2 separate regions of the Homo sapiens genome follow, and region 2 is linked to region 1. The links are contacts of gene promoters, found by promoter capture Hi-C in blood cells and fetal thymus (Javierre and others, 2016). All regions are on one chromosome and are shown on one strand. Each heading gives the region's core, a stretch centred on a gene start or on the middle of the fragment in contact. The rest is flanking DNA. Distances are from core to core; before and after follow the strand shown.

Region 1 (3,614 bases), core at 807-3,306:
ACGTGCCCAGGGGTCTGATGATCAGGAGACATCAAGAAAGGAGATAGGAATGAAGTGGGGAAAAGGACCCTGACTCTAGCGCATGGTCCATCACAGACATTGGCGACAGGTTTGTTGAATGAATAAGTGAAGGAGCTACTGGCAGGGCTAGCTGTATCCTGGGTCCTGCCTTCCCGAGCCTCAGTTTGTGCACCTATCAAATGGGTCCAGCATCACTGCTTGTCTGCAGAAGGCTCAGAGAGAAGAGATGAGAGGAACTCCCAGCAGCCCAGAGTGTGTTCTTTCCATGCAGTCCAGCCCCTTCTCAGGATCTGATTCAGGATTTCAGGGTACAATGTCCCCTAGGGTCTCTCGGCTTCCTCATATGCGGTAGAGCCTGGGGTTCAGGACCTCACTGAGGGCCAGGCTGGGGTACGGCCGTGTGTACCACCTGGAAAGCCACAGTGAGACCCTGGAATTGGCCCTTGGTTGTCTGGGACACATTGAGCCAACCCTTGGTTTAACCTGGGTGTTCTCCAGGTTAGGAGGGGAAGGGAAAGACTTGGGTTGCTGTCCCTGGGACAAATGGGAACAGAACGGTGCCCTGACCTGAAATAGCTTCTTCATCTAGGCTACCTCTCCTCCCCAGAAACTAGCGCCTCACTTTGGGGGGTACTTACTCCCTCCCTGTCCCACAGGGAGTACAAAGTATGGTTTAGGTAAAGACCGCCAGTGTGGCCTGGGTCGGGCAGCAGAGTCACAGGGAAGATGCGATTCCCATTCATCCGCTCAAACACACCCCTTCCCCGCACTCTCACAGACAAAGACACACACCCGAAGCCCCAGCCATCACCCAGGGCCACATAAGGCAGCCCCCCTCACCTGTGGGCACCCCCAAATTTTCCCCTCTCGGGGGGACTTCACTAGAAGCTCAGCTTGGCCGTGGGGGAGGGGTATTCACACTCCAAGGACCTGGGGGCCAACCTCCAGGCTCGCAGCTTTTGGGGGGGGACTCTCCGCCCTCTTCCCCCCTCTCCATGGCACAACGGGCTCCACCACCACTCCTCCGTGGGGCCGGGGAGCTGCGCCCGAGCCTCAAGGCTAGGGAGTGGGGTGGGGGAAGGGAGAGGAGGAGGGGGCGGCTCCTCCAAGCGAGACACAAAGAGACGTCCTTCAGCCTCGGCTCCATGGCGACGCTGGGGAAGGGGGAGCGCGCAACCCGATACTTCCTTCCCCACCTGCAGGGCTATGGGGACCTCGGTGGCCACTCACCTGCCGCCCCTCACCTGGGCCCGGCTTACCTGGGCTGGGGCCGCGGGGACGCCGCGGCAGGGGGCCTGGGCGCCGTCGCGGTCTTCGTCTGCCCGGCCCCGGGGGCTCAGGGCGCCACGACCATGGACCGGGGTGCAAGCGGTGCCGCCAGGGGCTCAGTCGCCCAAGTCCTGGAGCTTTAGGGGGGGGATCCCCGAGGCTTCTTGCTGGTGAGAGTGTCTCTTGCTGTCCCCGGCTGCCTAGATTTGGGATTTCTATGTACCGGAGTTGGGGGGAATTGGGATCCCCTGATCTAGGGGCGTTCTGAGCTGGGTCTTCTTGTCTTGAGGTGTGGAGTTGTAATGACCGGATCTTGGGAGGGGGTTCTCGCAATCCCGGCCTGGGGGCACTGCGTTCTAGGTCTTGGGGCGGGGGCCCAGACTGAGGAGGGGGAGTCCTTGCGGTGCCGTAGGGGGCTTGCTGTCTTCTAAATACCGAGGAAGTCTCCGCTTTCCCCGCAGGGGAGTCGCTCGGTGTCGGATCCGGGAGGGCCCCCCCTCTTCCCCGAGGCTCGCCGGATCCTGGATGTGGAAGGGGGCTCCCCGCACTCCTCGGCTGCGGGGGCTTTAGTGGGTCCCGGCCACCGGCGGGCGCTGGAAGCCCCTCAGCCGCTGGGGGGCTCGGTCGCCGCCGCTACGAGCAGCCCGGCCCTGCGCTCCCGGCCCCCGGCCTGGCCCGGGCTCCGGCTGCGGCTCCAGCTCGCGCTCCGCCTGGCGCTCGGGCCCCGGCCCCGGCGCCCGCCCGGGCTGCGCTCCATCGCGGCATCGCGGCTCCGCCCTCCAGCCAGCGCGCACCTGCCCGCCCGGCCCGCGGCTCCGCCCTCCGGCTCGCGCGCCGCCGCCCGCCCCTTTGTCCGTCCCGCTCGGCGCGCGCCCTCGCGCAAGCGCGCTCACCCGCCGCGCGCCCGCCCTCCCGCCGCGCGCCGCGGAGCGCAGATTCTCCCCGCGCGGCGCCCCCACCCCCTTCCGGCCGCGCTGGGTCCTAGCGCCGGTGGCTCCCGAGCTGGCTCCCACCCCCCACCCCCCACCCACCCCACTCCTTTTCTAGGTCAGAGCCCACGAGGGGGCGAGAACGAGGTTACAGAGGACTCGGGGGAGTCTGAGAGGGTCACCTGGTCCAGCTTTCTGGGCCCTGCGGGACGAGACTGCCCCAGACTGTCCCGGTCTGTGCTAGTGGGGCGGAGCCTGTGTGTGTTTGAAGGAGGGAAAACAAATCCAGGTTCTGCATTCGGATATGCATTTCATTCATCCATGCGTCCGCCTGCCTGCCTGCGCTTCCATCCATCCATCCATCCGTCCGTCCATCCATCCATCCATCCATCCATGCATCCTATTTCCAGCGAGACGTCAGAGAACTCACAGTCTTCTTGGGGAAGAGGTCATAAACTTGGGCCTGGGTGGTTGCCCTATCCAACTGAGGTCGCCTTTGCGATCCCTGCTGCAAATAGGCAGTGACTAGTCCAGGAGTGCAGCTGGGAGGAACTGCTCGCCGGATAGAAGGGAAGAAAGGAGATTCTAGGCAGAGGTACAGCAGGTGTAAGGGATGTTGCATTGTCTGTTTGATAACCGGAAATTGGTGGCCTGGATGAAGTGGGTGGATGGGGACAGAGATGAGATAGGGACAGCTCGTCCTTCCAGGCCCTGTTCTTTCTCCTCCCTGCAGCTCACTCTTTCCCTAGTGAGAAAGCCCCAATAGGACGCCTTCCCTATTTCTTTCTTTTTTTTTTGTTTTTTTAGCTTCAAGCTTCAAAAGCATTTCTTTTTCATTCTTTTTTTTAATTATTATTATACTTTAAGTTTTAGGGTACATATGCACAACATGCAGGTTTGTTACGTATGTATACGTGTGCCATGTTGGTGTGCTGCACCCATTAACTCGTCATTTAGCATTAGGTATATCTCCTAATGCTATCCCTCCCCCTTCCCCCCACCCCACAACAGTCCCTGGTGTGTGATGTTCCCCTTCCTGTGTCCATGTGTTCTCTTTGTTCAATTCCCACCTATGAGTGAGAACATGCGGTGTTTGGTTTTTTGTCCTTGCGATAGTTTGCTGAGAATGATGGTTTCCAGCTTCATCCATGTCCCTACAAAGGACATGAACTCATCATTTTTTATGACTGCCCCTATTTCTTCTAAGTTTTTGATCAGGCTGTTTTCTCAACCCAGCGTAATCCTCCCAGCCACTCCCGACTGTTTCCAGAGCTTTAGGAGCCAGGGATTGCAAACGCAAGTACCTACAGGCGCAGACATGAGCGACTGGGGTCGCATGTAAAGTGATAGAGAGGGTGGAGAAGAGGGGAACTGGAGACATCGTGGGCTGTGCGT
Region 2 (3,614 bases), core at 612-3,111, 650 kb after region 1:
TACGGCTTGTTTCATTTGTCGTCCTCACTGCAAGGGTTTCAGAACTCAGAAGGAAGATAACAAGAGACAGGGCCCCCAACACTTCCCATTTTTACTTGTGAGATTTTCTGAAGGTGCTGAAGCTGCACAGGCCACAACAGGACACAGGATATGGTGGCTGAGTGAGAGCAAAGCCTCTGCTTTAATAATTGCAATGAACTTGCTTTAGAGACCTTTAAGGAACGCCCACCCCACAGTAAATTGCTGGAAGGCCAATCCCTTCACTAGCAATTTAATGCTAAGAGCCGATGACGTTCATCAAATCTGACAGCATTTTGGTAAACGACGGCTCTGTTGATTAGGCCGCTGTCCACCCAAGTATTACAAGGCTGAGGAAGCCATAAATCTTAATCCACAGATAGCAGCATAAAGATCTAAGGCCCAGAAGTGGTGGGGGGAAAAGGACAGTATGAACAAGAGGCCATACATCACCACCAGCCCATTCCACAGGGAAGGTGGCAGCTCGGGAGCCCAACACAGCCATCGCCATGATCCTCCCCAAACCCCCAGGAATCTGAGGGGCTTGGGAAGGGTTTTACAGGTGGAAGTCATCGGCTTCTTGGCCAGGAGCCAGAGTTGGGATGACTCTGTGACCTTCTGGTCAAGGGATCTGGAGGCCAGTGTACCTGACGCAGCCCCTCCTGTCAGGGCAGCTCTACCCAAATGTGCTTTCTTATTGTTGGGTGAGACCGTAAGAAGAGAAACCTGTTCTCCTGGAGGCGGTGAATGGATTGGGCTTGGTCAGTAGAAACAGGGTGTGTGATTCAAGAGAGTTTCAGGGCTGGGCGCAGTGGCTCACGTCTGTTAATCCCAGCACTTTAGGAGGCCAAGGTGGGTGGATCGCATGAGCCCGGGAGTTCAAGACCAGTGTGGGCTACATAGCAAGAACCTGTCTCAAAAAAAAAAAAAAAAAAAAATCCAGCAAGACAGCCAGGAGGAGAGTACAGAGGGTGAATGGGGAGGCAAGGGGGCTGTGTGGACTGTGAATAAGGCTGGGACTGCAGGTGCTCACTGTGCACTGGGACCACTGCATCCCACCACGGTGTCCCCTGCTGACCAATGTGAATACACAAGGCGACCGTGTGGCCCCACTGATACCTCCTGGTTGGCATGGCCCTACAAGTGAAACCCCAAGACCGGGAGAGGACTGTGGTCCCTCTCTTGGTGGAGCAGCTTTTGAGAACTGGCCACTGGCCACTGGGGACTTGGCTGCCTTGACCACTCTGCCTACCTTGGCTGCCCCTAAGCATGGCAGGAGCCCATCCAAAAGGGTTAGGATAGAAAGATTGTCTTCCTCTCCATCCCATGGACCCAAGACTCTGTCTCCATGGACTGTCTACCATGGAGAAACTTTGGACTTAACTCCACTTCTTGGAGCCAGAGCAAACCAATCCAGCCTGTCTTCCTCATGACGGTAATAATGGTATAGCTGGCACCCCCAGTCTATTCACTCTGCTACCTCCAGCCTTCTTGACAAGAAGCTATAGGACTCATGGTTCCTGCTCATGTGGCCAGGGCAGGCAGGGTTTGCACCAAATGAACTGGTCTCTGAGGGGCTCTAGTCATAGCCGATGGAGGTAGGAGGGGGTGCCTCATCCAGGCTAAGCAGCAGCAGCCCAGGCCATGCCCTGAGAAAGGGATGAGCTGAGAGATTCAGACTGTCTCTGTCTTGGAAACTTTCAACTAACAAATATGGAGGGAGTGTAAAACCGTGTGTGGAGAAGGCACGATGGATCAGGGGAACACTGAAGCTACGAGTTGGCGGCAGCTCAGGGACAGGGAACAGAAGTGCAAGGACGGGGGCTGGGGAAGGTTGGTGGAGAGAGACGTAGCCCTGCTTCAAAGGCTTCCTGGTCCTCCTGTAGCCCCTTGCTCCCATGGGCGGTCCTTTCTGCACACATGAACCCAAAATATGAACCCAAACGTGGCGCTCTACTGTTTCAACCCTCTTGGAAATTCTCACATTTAGATTGAAATCCAAACTTCCTCCTGTGGTCTTCTAGGCCCTGCATGGCCGGTTCTTCCTACTTGCAACCCTGACACCCTCATCCCCACCCTTTCTGCCACCCTGTCCTGATCGCCCTGCCTCCTCTCAGCCTGTGCCCAGTGCCCGCTGCTCTCACTGTCCCCTCACCTGAAAGCCTCCCCCAGCCACAGATCTTTCCGGGGCTGGCTCCAGGTAACTCTCAGGCCCTGGCTGCGATGCGGCCCCTTGGGAGGCTGTGCTGCCCACCTTCGCTGAAGGAGCGCTCCCCCGACAGCTTCTCTTTCAGGCTGCTGTCCTCTGTCCTTCCTTCGTAGCACTGTCTTCCGACTCCCTTGCTTGCCTTTGGTCCTTTGCCTTCCCAACCTCCCCACCCGCTCCCCATCAACATGAGCTCCAGGAGAGCAGGGCTGGCCTCACTTATTGCTTGGAACCCGGCATCTGTAAGTGCCAAAACTGAGTATGTGCTCAATACATGAGCACGGAATGAAAGAAGTAAAGTATGAGTGAGCAAAGGAACATACTAGAGTGAAGAGCCCTGAGGCCTCCAGGCTGAGCTGCCCTCCCCATCTGCCCCTCTGTGATTAAAACAACAACAGGCAGCACCATTCACTATTTCTCCTGTGCCAGGCACTGCTTCAGCTTCTCTCCAAACACAGACCCCACTGATCCTCATTAATTGCCCTCATTAATTACCATTACCAACCTCACATGACAAATGAGAGCGCAGGCACCAAGGGGTTAAGCGTCTTAGCCACTGTGCAGCTGGCAGGAGGCGGAGCCAAGGCTTTGCACTGGGGCTGCTGGAAGGTTCCAGGGTCTATGCTCTTAGCCATTCCTCTGGACTTGTCTGTCACCTGTTCCCACCTGAAGCAGCAGGCAGCCCCTGCTGAGACCACCTGTAATGCACGCTGCACATGCTCCCCTCCAGCAGCCCTGGGAGGTTTCATTGATGATGAAACCAAAGCTCAGAGTGGTTACACGGCCAGCTCCAGAGCACACAGCTCACAGAGGTTACATGGCCAGGTCTGGGGTGCACAGCTCAGAGAGGCTACACAGCCAGCTCCGAGACACACAGCTCAGAGAGGTTACTCAGCCAGCTCTGGGGCACACAGCTCAGAGAGGTCACATGGCCAGCTCCAAGACACACAGCTCAGAGAGGTTACACAGAGAGCTCCAGGGCACACAGCTCAGAGAGGTTACACAGCCAGCTCCAGGGCACACAGCTCACAGAGGTTACACGTACATAGCTCAGAGAGGTTACACAGCCAGCTCCAGGACACACAGCCAGTGAGCAGTCCAAAGCCTACTCCTTCCACTCTCCAGGGGCTACAAATTCAAATGCCCCAAAGAACCAGACGGGAAATGGAAACACGAGATAAGAGAAATCATAGCCTAAATCTGATAATAAACCACAGCTACCACTCAGCCTCACCACTGAAGCTCTGGGGAGTGGTGGGGACTTTGGCAAACAGGAAAGCTCATGCCCTATCCAAAGGCAGTAGCTGGACTTGGCTCCTGCTGCTGGCTGCCTAGTGGGGAGGAGGATGGCCCAGCGTGGGGGCCAGACTTTTCCATTTTTTCCAGGGAA

The links. Contacts are between HindIII fragments. The CHiCAGO score rates a contact against its expected background, and 5 or more counts as called.
Region 2: a fragment that was not itself captured here is called in contact with the fragment with the promoter of SBK1 in region 1 in 1 of 17 cell types (M1 macrophages); the score reaches 5.7 in M1 macrophages.

What each region holds. Positions count from the first base shown.
Region 1 is chr16:28,290,967-28,294,580 of GRCh38, reverse strand. SBK1 (SH3 domain binding kinase 1) reads right to left here and starts at 2,056. Exons shown (of 4, transcript NM_001024401.3): 1 at 1,281-2,056. LOC124903670 (a long non-coding RNA gene) reads left to right here and starts at 2,516. Exons shown (of 2, transcript XR_007065033.1): 1 at 2,516-2,814. RefSeq lists silencers at 1,956-2,185, 2,393-2,564. The HindIII fragment of the contact is 5,383 bases long and covers 1-3,035 here.
Region 2 is chr16:27,636,178-27,639,791 of GRCh38, reverse strand. All of the region lies in intron 5 of KATNIP (katanin interacting protein), which reads right to left. Among named protein-coding and RNA genes, the nearest start is that of KATNIP, 88 kb to the right of the region's middle. RefSeq lists an enhancer at 2,472-2,972. The HindIII fragment of the contact is 4,214 bases long and covers 1-3,614 here.